Regions from separate parts of the Homo sapiens genome. Here region 2 is linked to region 1. The links are contacts of gene promoters, found by promoter capture Hi-C in blood cells and fetal thymus (Javierre and others, 2016). All regions are on one chromosome and are shown on one strand. Each heading gives the region's core, a stretch centred on a gene start or on the middle of the fragment in contact. The rest is flanking DNA. Distances are from core to core; before and after follow the strand shown.

The links. The method cuts DNA at HindIII sites, captures the fragments that hold promoters and counts their contacts. A CHiCAGO score of 5 or more calls a contact.
Region 2: a contact is called between a fragment that was not itself captured here and the fragment with the promoter of PRRT3 in region 1, in 1 of 17 cell types (monocytes). The highest score is 5.2, in monocytes.

What each region holds. Positions count from the first base shown.
Region 1 is chr3:9,949,608-9,955,642 of GRCh38, reverse strand. It overlaps PRRT3 (proline rich transmembrane protein 3), which reads left to right and starts at 3,235. Exons shown (of 4, transcript NM_207351.5): 1 at 3,235-3,321; 2 at 5,471-6,035. The coding sequence starts at 5,528. It overlaps PRRT3-AS1 (PRRT3 antisense RNA 1), which reads right to left. Exons shown (of 4, transcript NR_046734.1): 4 at 856-1,039. RefSeq lists a silencer at 3,197-3,736. The HindIII fragment of the contact is 9,295 bases long and covers 1-3,749 here.
Region 2 is chr3:9,686,489-9,692,428 of GRCh38, reverse strand. MTMR14 (myotubularin related protein 14) reads right to left here. Exons shown (of 19, transcript NM_001077525.3): 14 at 4,538-4,608; 15 at 3,675-3,733; 16 at 3,347-3,485; 17 at 2,286-2,465. Among named protein-coding and RNA genes, the nearest start is that of CPNE9, 14 kb to the left of the region's middle. The HindIII fragment of the contact is 1,583 bases long and covers 594-2,176 here.

The DNA.
Region 1 (6,035 bases), core at 1,986-4,485:
ATAATGAAAAACATAAAACCTAGGGTTGTCATGAGGACTTAAAAAGAATAATGGTGTGTAGCATAGTTTTTGGCAGACCAAGTGCTTGGTGAACAGGAGATATTGACCATCCCTTGTATACTTGGAGTCACCTTCCATTTATCCCCGCCGTCCCAGAGTCTGCAGAAGGATGCTGGGAGCTCCATCTGGAGCTGAGATACTCCCCGTCCACACCTGCGCACCTCGTGTTCCCCGCTTACATTCACCTCCACCCCAGCCAGTCTCCTCTTTCCGCAGGATCAGCTTTCACCTTGGCCTCTAGCCAAAGGGATCCTAATCTCTCTTGCATTTGTTTGGAATCTCAGAATGCCTGCCGGTTGGTGGTTTAGAAACGCGATGGGATTGGGGCCCCTGGTTCCAAAGAGGGCAGCCAGCAAGCAGCCAGATGGCCCTGCATGGACTGGGAGGTCAGGCACTCACACACCTGCCCTTCTCAGGAGAAACTGAGGAAGGGAACCGGGCCAGCTCTGAGCCTGTGGAGGGAATCTCAACATCTCCAAAGGAGGCTCCCAGCGAGTTCACAAGGGGAAGTGAGAGGAAGGATCCAGACTCCTCAGCTTCTGTAGGGGGCCCTAGGACTGCATTCTGGCCAAGACTGCCCACATGGGAACAGACACAGGTCCCCCAAAGGAAGTTAGGATGCTGTCAGGAAGGGAAATGGTTATTGCAAAACCCTCCAAAATGTCAATCAGCTATATGTAGAATCAGGATCCAGTTAACTTCCTACAAGATTGTAACAACAGGCTGGATCTAACAAGATAAACAACAAACAAATGTAGAATCCTACATTAAGAGTCAATAAACCAGTGGTACATGAAGAGATGGGAAGACTTTACTACTAGATCAATTGGGTAACAAAGTAATGTGGCTGCTAGAAACATTAATTCAGTGTGAGGCCGTATGAATGGAGTAGAATCCTGGAAAGGAGAGGTGAAGGTTCAGCTTTACTCCCAACAAGGTTCATTTCCAAGAGTCCTACTTTCAGAGGGGCGTTGTTGAGCTGGTAAGAAGCAAACAGAGAAGAGATTCCACATGGTGAGAACCCAGAATCCTGTCCTGCAAGGAACAGCTGAAAAACTCGGAGTGTTTGTCCTGGAGAAAGAAGACTCTAGAGAAATGAGAGATGCCTTTACAATTCTGAAGTGGCTCCAACAAGGAAAACAGAGCTGGTCAGGTCATGTGTGAAACGGGCAAGGCCTGCACCCTCTCCCAGAGTCAAGCAGCTGAATGCAGGCCCCACCATTTACCAGCCATTAGGGATGGAATATTCTTCAAACTGCAACACGTCAGACACAACTGGGGCCTGAGTATTGCTTTTCTGTGAGAGCTAGAGGTAGGAAGCCATTGGGAGGGAGATGTCAGCTCAGCCCTAGGAAGAATTTTTTCTTTTTCTTTTTTAAGTGAAATTTGATTTTTTATTTGATACTGGGTCTCTTTCTGTCACCCAGGCTGGAGTGCGGTGGTGCGACCTTGGCTCACTGCAACCTCTGGCTCCTGGACTGAAGTGATCCTCCCACATAACCCTCCTGAGTATCTGGGACCCAGGTGCGCACCACCACACTTGGCTAATTTTTTTTTTTTTTTTTTGGTAGAGATGGGGTTTTGCCATGTTGCCCAGGCTGGTCTCGAACTCCTGGGTTCAAGCAGTCCTCCAGCCTTGGCCTCCCAAAGTGCTGGGAATATAGGCATGAGCCATTATACAGGCCAAATTTTCTTCTTCTTCTTCTTCTTCTTTTTTTTTTTTTTTTTTTTTTTTGTCAGTCTCGCTCTACTGCCCAGGCTGGAGTGCAGTGGTCATTGCACTCCAGTGACACAGCTTGTGGTCAATGGACAGAGTGGTCAATGCACTCCAGTGACACTCCAGTGGCCATAGCTTACTGCAATCTTGACCTCTTGGGCTCAAATGATTCTCTGGCCTCAGCCTCTGGAGTAGGTAGGACTACAGGCATGTACCACCACGCCCAGCTAGTTTTTTTGTTTTTTTGTTTGTTTTTTAATTTAAAAAAGTCTCACCATCTTGCCCATGCTGGTCTTGAACTCCTGGGCTCAAAATGATCCTCCTCTCTAGGCCTCCCAAAGTGCTGGGATTACAGGTGTGAGCTACTGCACCCAGCCCTATCTCATTTTTGATAACCACATATATTTCCTGTGTGGCTTTCCCTTAAGGAATTGAGCCTAATAATGGATGTTTAGTATATCAAGAGGTGTTCAAAGAAAGACCAAGAACATTTTGACAGTGTCTACCAGCCCCATATGCAGACCCATAGATTTTACTACCATGCCTCGGCTAGGCAATTATCTGGTAGGTGCACTAGTGTACGTGCACAGTGATGTGTTAAGCAAGGAATGGCCCCTGCTCCATTATCCCTGCGAGCAAAAGGCTAGAAACAACCTATGTCCAATTACAGGGGACAGGATAAAGAACAATAACTAGCTGACCATATGCTGGAATTCTCAACAGTGGATACAAGAAATGATATAGATCTATAGATATTTACATGAAAAATGTGCCAGAATATATTGGAAAGTGAAAAAGACAAATTACAGAAATGTGTACAGTGGCTGGGCACGGTGGCTGACGCCTGTAATCCCAACACTTTGGGGGTCCGAGGCGGGCTGATCACCTGAGGTCAGGAGTTCGAGACCACCCTGGCCAACATGGTGAAACCCTGTCTCCACTAAAAATATAAAAATTAGCCAGGCATGGTTACTAGGGAGGCTGAGGCAGGAGAACCACTTGAACCTGGGAGGCGGAGGTTGCAGTGAGCCGAGATCACGCCACTGCACTCCAGCCTGGGCGACAGAGCAAGACTGTCTCAAAAAAAAAAAAAAAAAGTATACAGTATGATGTCATTTCTATTTAAGATGTACATGTAACTGTACATTGAGAAGAATCTGAAGGATACATACCAAGCTGTAGGTAGGATTTACCTAAAAGGATGTAGGGATATAGAAAGGAAGTGAGCTCCCCGTCCCATGAGGTATGCAAGCAGAGGCTAGCTGCCCCGTTTTCAGGGATGCTGCAGAAGACATTTCCACATCCCTCAGAGATGACCTCGGTTCCACTCTGAGCCCTGACAATCCCTGAGCGAGGGGAAGTCAGGGTTGACAGAAGAGTCCACCCCTAAGGGGAAAGAGTTAAGCAGGGCTGCGCTCCTGTGGGCGGGCTCGCGATCGGCAGCGCCGGGCTCTGTTAGCCGAGTCTGAGCATCTCGGAGGATGCGGCGCGGCGATCGGCTGCAGGGACGCGCGCAAGGTGAACACGGGGGCTGCGGCGCGCAGGTGAGGAGCTGGCCCAGGGAGGGGGCGATGGCGGGACCCCGACGGGGAGCGTGGCCTGCTGCCCCCGTCGCGGGCGCAGGCGACCAGGCCTGCACGGCGCCCACCCCCATCCAGGACACTGCGGGAAGGCGCGGAGCCAGGGAGAGAGGAGACGGAGGAGGAGGAGGAGGAGGAGGAGAGGTAACCCGAGATGGACCAGCTCCGAGGCTGCCCCGCAACGGCCTCGCCCTGCCCCCAGGCCGGCCTCTCCCCAGTCCCTGCGGCAGAGAGATCCGCCACCCCCCACAGCCTCTCCAGCAGAGTGGGAGCCCAGGGCTGGGCAAGCCCCCGCCTTGTCCGCAGGTGCCCACATCTCTTGGGTTGGCAGTGGTAGGCAGATGGCATGTTTATCTTTGGAGGCCCCATTCAGCCGTTTTCTCGGCAAAGCTTTTTGGACCTCCTGTGGAAGATGAGCCTCCGAGGGTTTCACAACCCCGATTGTGTCCACTCAGCTGTGTGACCTTGGGGGAGTTGCTCACCCTCTCTGAACCCCCGTTTCTTCCCCCTGTGAAATGGCTGTTCCCACACCTTGTATTGGGAGGGCGGAGTGACGTGTTGCTAAGCTCAGCGCAGGAGCCTCACTGGGAAAGAACTAAACACAGGAGCACTGTTTTTAGCCAGTACCTGTGTTAGGGGCGTCTCAGCGCACCCCTACTCCCAACCCTGGAGCAAAGCCCTGTCTCTGGGCCCCCAGCACCTAGCCTAGACCAGGAGCAGCCCATGGGGCTCCGTGAATGTTTGAGAAATGAACTAACAAGGCTTTAAGACAGAGTCTAAACTCGAGTTTGGAGGATGGGACTCAAAGGTCTTTGAACCCCTTGAAATTGTTCACAACTTTCGGTGAGCCTGGGTCTTTTCCCCGGGAGAGCACCAGGGGTTTTCAGTGGCTTCTTAAGGTGTCTGTGAGCCACCATGGGTTAACAGCCAGGAAGCTTTGGGGACAGCTGCTCCCCAGAGAGGAAAAGAGCAGGGCCTCTGCCGCCAAACACACCCAGGCTTCAGCTCTCGCACCCTCCATGAAACCTCTCCTGGTGGTGGGGCCCCTTCCTGCCTCCCTGGCCCACTGACAGGCTCTCGAGAACAGGAACTTTTAGGGGATATCCACGTGGGGCCAGGTATATACTGGAGGCTGCAGGTTTGAAATAAGAGGCAGGAGATTATTATAGAATCAGACCAGAGTGACAAGTGCCCAGGAAGATGAGGGAAGGAAGGCGGGAAGAGGAATGTGTAACGCTTGTCAAGCATCAGGTATGAACCTCGCCCATACCTGTTTGGTTATTTGTCTCATGCCTTGAGTTAGGCATGCTTATTATCCCCATTTTACTGATGGGAAAACTATGATGCAGAGAGGTGAAATGACTCCCCCAGGAAATGAAGACACTGGGATTCAAACTCAGGCCCCTCGCCAAAGGCCGGTGCATATTCCTCTCCCTCTCCACGTCTCTCATTTTTGAAGTGGGCCTTTAGGAATAACATTTCAGGCAGGGTGCAGTGGCTCATGCCTGTAATCCCAGCACTTTAGGAGGCCAAGATGGGCAGATTACCTGAGGTCAGGAGTTCAAGACTAGCCTTGCCAACATGGCAAAACCCCATCTCTATTAAAAATATAAAAATTAGCCAGGTGTGGTGGCACATGTCTGTAACCCCAGCTACTCGGGAGGCTGAGGCAGGAGAATCACTTGAACCTGGGAGGTGGAGGTTGCAGTGAGCCGAGATCACGCCACTGCACTCCAGCCTGAGCGACAGAGCAAGACTCCGTCTCAAAAAGAACAGGATTTCAGTAAGTGAAGGGGAAGGGAGAGAGCATTCCCTGCTGACAGAACAGCAGAAGCAAAAGGCATGGGAGCCACACAGTCCAGTGGGTGTTGGAGGACAGATGAACAGCTTGTGGTGGCCAGGGTCTTGGAAGGCCAGGAGAGGAGCTTATGTTCTTTCTTGAGGGAAATGGGGAGCCACTGAAGGTTTTAAAGCAGGGCAAGTGCCACGTCCAGCAATTTTAAAAGCAGAGAAGCTGCTGCCTTGCGTTGCTTTTCTTTCCTGTCAGCCCCTTGAGGAAGGCATGGGGGCCCCCAGCCCTCACATGTCATTCCATGCCCTGTTTTTTTTTTAGGCTCATCCAGTGAGGACTGGAAGGTGGGGGCTTTAGGCCCAGGCATCGGAGTAGACCATGGCCTCCAGCCCATGGGGCTGTGTATGTGGCCTTCTGCTGTTGCTGCTGCCACTCCTGGGGACTGGCCCTGCCCTGGGGAGGGGCTTTCCCAGGCCACTTGAAAACTCCGAAATCCCTATGATCCCTGGAGCCCACCCCAAGGGCTCTGTGGGCTCAGAGCCCCAGGCCTTTGACGTGTTCCCGGAGAACCCCAGAGCTGACAGTCACAGGAACTCTGATGTCCGCCACGCCCCTGCTGAAGAGATGCCTGAGAAGCCTGTAGCCTCTCCCCTTGGCCCAGCCCTGTACGGGCCCAAAGCAGCACAAGGAGCTCAGAGAGAACGACTCCCAGTAACTGATGACCTCCAGATGGCTCAAGGACCAAGCTCCCACGGCTGGACAGGACCTCTGGACTCACAAGAGCTTCTGCAGCAAGAAGCAGTGGCTCCCCACCCAGTGGGCCACCCTCATCTCACTTTCATCCCCACAACTCCCAGACGTCAACTCAGGGTAGCCACAGTTCCTC
Region 2 (5,940 bases), core at 136-2,635, 260 kb after region 1:
ACAACAGCTAACAATGATTAAAAACCACTGGGCTTGCCAGTAAGGGCTGTGGGCTCGGGGTTAGTAAGAATTGGCACCCCACAGAACTTTCTTCCCAACCTGATTCATACCTACTACTTAACTTTGAACAAAGCTTCACAGATTCATTCCATGGGGGAATCCTGCTTTAAAAGAGAGATGCCTGTAGAATTTGGAGTGTATAAAAACCCAAAGAATTCACATTAGGAGAATTTTGGCTGTCACAGACAGCTTCACTAAAAGGTTTCTTTCCAAACAGCTTCTCCTACCACATTAAAGACCTCACAGGCTATTGTTACCTAAGAAGCAGGGAGGGTAATGACAGGATCCCTTAGGCACTTTAAGATAAGAGACTAAATTAATTTTAATGGTAATGGAAATACATAATTAGAATGCTCCAAATCTGAGTAATCTAGACTTTCAAAACCTCTGACCAACAGGCATCCAAGTCAGAAGAAGTCTGGCTCCAGACAGGCATCCCCCAAACAGACCAGCGGAAAGATCAAACACCTCACAGCTGCCCACCCCACACCTTTCAAAGCCTTGCACCCATCTTGGTCCAGCTATCCCAAGCTTGGCCAAGCCCCCATGTGCAGGGCTCTGAGGTCAGGAGGACAACCCCAATTCTCCTCAGCCTCCCAAGAGGGGGCCTTGGTGGCCATCCTGGACTGGCTACAAGAGCCTGAGACACGCCCTGCAAGCAGAAAGTCACCTGTGAGACTGAGGGACACTATCACAGGATTGGAAAGTGGGATCTTTTGGCAGGCAGGAGATGGAGAGCCAGGGTGTGGTAACGGGTGATGGGGTGCTGCCTCAGCTTGGGAGCTCACTGCATTCTGGGCAGTTAAGACTGAGGCAGGACCCAGAGGACAAGAGGAACCTCTGGTTTCCTCCCTAGTTGTTCAGCAATGCTGGACAGGCAGAAAAGGGGGCAGGAACCATGACCTAGAGCCACAGCCTAGAACAGTGAGGGTCAAACAGTGCCACTGCAGCCTCAGAGTGGCCCTGAGGACAGCTGGGCACAGACAAGGGTGGTGCGGCAGCAGGCATGCACACACAGGATGGGACGGGGCACCGGCACATGGGCTTGTCTGTCTGGCCCCATCTCTGCCCCACCACTTCCACCACACCTCCCATGGGGCCAGACGGCGTGTGGCGGTGGTTTCACAGGCTCAGCTCCAGCACTCAGGCAGTGTTCTGAGCTGAAGAGTTCACGCAGGGGTGAGCACATGGGGCCCCTGTGGGCAGTGCAGTCTGGAACGCCCACTTGCCTCCCGCTTATCTGCTCTGCCTATGTGCAGAGGATGTTCTTCCCCAACTTCCTTCATTGCCTGTTTTTGCCCAGAGGGAAAAACCATAGAGGGGTGATGGGAGGAAGGTTCCAGAAGTTTCAGAATGTTTTTCTTCTTAACAGACCTATTACTACCAAGGACTAAACTGAGTCTGAAAATCACATGGACATGTGGCAGAGCTTGACTTGAACCTGGGATGGATGCCAAAGCTCATGCCCATTCTTCTAAATGCCCCTTTTTCCCTGGAATTCACTAAGGGCCTGAAGTCCCACGCTGCTTTATTCACTCCAGAAAGGCTAGACATTCTCAAAACTTTAGAACACAAAGCAATTCACAGGATTCTTTCGATGGGAGTATGAAAGTGGTAGGAAATGCTTTCCCCAAGTGCCAGACCAGCCCTCAATCCTAGCCTCTGGCCTGTGCTCAGCTTTAAACTCACCCAGGAGGCACCATTCCTGCAGCGCCCTTCAGCCACGGCCCTGGCATGGCCATCCTGGCTGAGCTGCTCCCTTTCCAGGTGTGCAGTCACCATCGTTTGTCCCAGCCACACACATGTAGCTCAGCTCCCTAACACTGTTCTCACTGCCCCACCAATTCAGACTTTAGATGTGGGAGCCAGAAGGGACTCAGAATCTAGATCTATCTCTTCAATCACAATGGGAGGTGCGCCTAGGAGGCTGGGATCTGCCAAAGGTAACAAGTGGAGGCAGTCCCTATTCCCCACCTATCACATAACAGCCACGGCACTTCTGGGTTCCCCTGCATTATGCTAGGGTTCGAGGAAGGAGTCTCAAACCACTCTACAAATCAGCCCTTGCTTTATTACCAAACACTAACCCATCCTCCAAATACTGGGCCTGCAAGCTTAGGAACCCCATCTTGAGACCCTAGCTCAGGTGCTGGCCCCCGACCCTCCAGTCTTATTAAGGGGGAAAGCTAGGCACTTCCAACAGCAAGGGCTTTGGAGCTCCTCACCTGGGTTTGGGGACCTCCAGGGGACTGCTACCCATCCTGAAAAAGTTATCAGAATGGTTTGAGGAAGAGGAGCTGGAAGACCTGGCTTCCGCCAGCCCCTGCTGGGAAGGCAAGCGGTCCTCTGAGGGTTGTGGCCGGTTCCAGAGGACACTCTGTGGAGAGGATGAGTGGCTCTTCCTCCTGCAGTGGAAGGAGCAGGGCTGTGAGCCGGGGGCCACTGCAGGCAAAGCCCTCTGCCCACCCTCACTGAATTTCAGGCCTAGGCTTTACTTCCACTGGGAAAACATCACATGAGTTGGCAAACATTAGCACTCTCTCCAGCTCAGGGCCATGGGCAGCAGGGCTGGGTCTTTATGGAGGGCCTGTGGCATCCAAATCACACCAGCCTACTGGTCTTGAAGTATGTGCTAGAAAATGATTCCTCACTCTTCAGTCACTGCCCACCTCCATATGTTATGCAAAATCTTTTTTCCCCCTCTAAAAGACGGGGTCTCATTATGCTGCCCAGACTGATCTCAAACTCCTGGGCTCAAGTGATCCTCCTGCCTTGGCCTCCCAAAGTGCTGGGATTATAAATATAAGCCACCACTCAGGACTTTGTTATGCAACATCTTGAGCCATCTGTCCAGGGTGAAAGTCATCAGGGTCTCAATTTCATGAGATTCTCAAAGGAGCTGACCCTCAAGTTCCCAATTCCCCATCAACTTACACCTACCTTTTGGTTTTCTTTTTCCAAAATGGCCCCCTATCTCCCCGACAAATGATAAAATGGAGCTCCTCCAATACCAGCCTCCCCAGACCCCTGCCCTACCCTGCCCAGCTGCTTCTCTGTCCCACAGGGAGCCCTAGCCCTTTATGTTCCTGGGCCACCACAGGCAGTGCCCTTCACCAACCAGATGGCTGACTTCTGAGGCCCAGTAGAGACAGCAGGAGCACGGAGCTATCCTCTCAGCTCTTCTCTTGGGGGCCTGCTTTGTTCTTGGGGCTCCAGCCTGGCTCCCTGGTGCTGATGGCCCCGGGCCACAGCTGTGAGTGACCTTGGTCCAAGTCTGGCCCCTTACCAAGCTGCCTGAGTTGGCGCTCCTGCTGGGACCAGCTCCACGGCCTCATAGGTGAAGCTCCCAGTGGCTCCTGGGGAACTCTCCATGACCAGGGAGAAGTCGCTGCCAAGGCTGGTGGTGCTGCCACGGTCCTTTCGTCCTAAAAGAAGCCAGTGCCATCAGTCAGCGTGTTACCTTCTCCCACTACTGGTCCCCCACCTTTTCTATACCACATAACTGGGAAGAAAAAAAAAAAAACAAAAAACCTCTTAGCACAAACAGTTCCTGCCTGATCTGTACACGGGAAGATGTATGGAGGAAGGGAAGTCTGTTGGGGCCCAGGACTCACTCAGCATGCAGATGTCTTCCAGGGTGAAGCCTCCATCCCGGGCTGGCAAACTCTTCCTCCTAGAAATGGAAGCCGGAGCAGTAAATTCCAGATCTATCTGGGGTCTTATTGTGTCCCCCGTTCCCAATCCTGCCTGTCCTGGAAAGCAGCTCAATTCACTGGCAACTTGTGGAGACGGGTCCTAGCCTAGGGAGTGTTATAAGACACCAGGGCCACTTCTGGGACCCACGCTGCAAGGCTCTGTCCAACACACAGGTGAAGATTTCTGAGGGCAGCAAGGTCTGCATCCTCCTCATCAGCTTGTGCCCTGAGCGTTCAAGTGTGGCCCAACATGCTTGTAGCTCGGATTAGGAAGGCAAACCAACTCAGGCAAGACCCCAACTCTTACAGGGGTCCTAAGGCAGTTGCCAGCCAAGACTCTTGCATTTCCCAGGCCGGAAGCAGACTTCTGCCCTTTTGTAGGGGGCTGCAGTGTTCAGCCACACTTCCTGCTGTAGGCCATGGAGGACAAGAGTCAGCTTGGGCACACTGGGAGTTAAGAGTCCTCCTACTCCTGGGCTGGCTTCTCCCTGCAGCAACACACCTGTTTTCTTGGTCATGAGAGACCACTCGTCTGTCCCAAAGCCTGTCTGCTAGTGTGACTCCAAGTTGACCCCCACATGGCCTTCCCTGCAGAAGAGCCTCTTCACCAGTGGCCTTCAGCAGGGACCCCTACCCTGGCCTCAGAGCGAAGGCAGGAGGGAGCACCAGCCCAACAAGCAGGGAGGCAGGGCGGGAATGAGGTGGTCAGCCTCTTGCCTCCCAGGGAGCAGCCCTTCTCAGAGCGCCCTGGCCCAGCATGACACGTGCAGGCCTCCACTTACCTCTGGGTCTTCAGAGCAGAGAACTCCTCGGAGGTAATATGCTTCAAAAAATTGAAGCAGAAGAAGAAAATCTAAAGGAGACCAAAGAGCAGCGCACAATGAGAAGAACCAAGGCAGCAGAACTCCCAGGGGAGGGCGGCCAGCCACTCAGGTCAAGGCCCCTGCTGGAGAGCGGCCCTGCTGTGGGACTGTGTGGGTGTTCTGGTCCATAAATGGTGTGGGTGGTACAGAGGCCTTGGAAGGGCCTGGCAGATGCATGTGGGCCGGGGCAAGGCAGGAAGGGATTTCCTTCCTGGGACTGCCAGGGTTAAGCCAGCTATTTTTTTTTTTTTTATTTGAGACAGAGTCTCGCTCTGTCACCCAGGCTGGAGTGCAATGGCGTGATCTCGGCTCACTGCAAGCTCAGCCTCCTGGGTTCAAGCCACTCTCCTGCCTCAGCCTCCCGAGTAGCTGGGACTACAGGTGCCCGCCACCATGCCCAGCTCATTGTTCGCATTTTTATTAGAGACAGGGTTTCACCGTGTTAGCCAGGATGGTCTCAATATCCTGACCTCATGACCCGCCCGCCTCAGCCTCCCCAAGTGCTGGGATTACAGGCGTCAACCACCGTGCCCAGCCAGGCCAGTGATTTTTCAAACCATCATTAAATTCAACATGTGTGTTCTCAAGTGGTTAAAAAGGATAAAGTGAAATGGCACCCTCTCCCCTCTTCTAAGATTCCCAGGGAGAGATGCTAACAGGGAAGGATAGCTGCGGGAGAGATGACTTGGGCGCAGGGAGAATAATGGACAAAGCAGGAACATAATGGAAAGGAAAGGAATCACATTTTTTAGGGGAGGCATCCCAAAATACTGGTTCAGAACTGCGGGTGTGGGCAGCCACTGTCTGGCCTAGAGCCTCCCTTGCTGAGGAGCTGTGAGGGTCAGGTCTTAAGCTTGAGGTGGGCACAGGCAGGAGGCTCCTGACCCCAGCCACACCCCCACCTCCATGAGCAAATTATCTTCTCCCTTCCAGCCAGTGCCTCGCCCAGGGGCCTCCAGGAAGCACACACCAGGCTTCCATTTCTGTGGTGATTCCCAAAGGCCTGGCCCATGAGCCCCTCTCTCAGAGAAATCCCTACTTGGCATCCCACGAGCCCTGTCAGTTTCTTATCTCTGTGTGCCCAGGCAAGGAGCTGCCCCCCACAAGGAGAGGGCTGCCCAGGTCGGGTCAGTATGAAAATGTTGTGTTACTTAAGATTAAACAGGTGTTTTCACTACAGACTTTGTAGTCTTTAATATGCTAATATGCTAATATGTTCCCCGAACCTCCAAGGTGAGGTGGGGAGACGACACAATCGTGTTTAACTAATAGGCCTGGGGTTTTTTGCTTTGGACGCATCAGTGTCTGGATTGTCTGGGGGG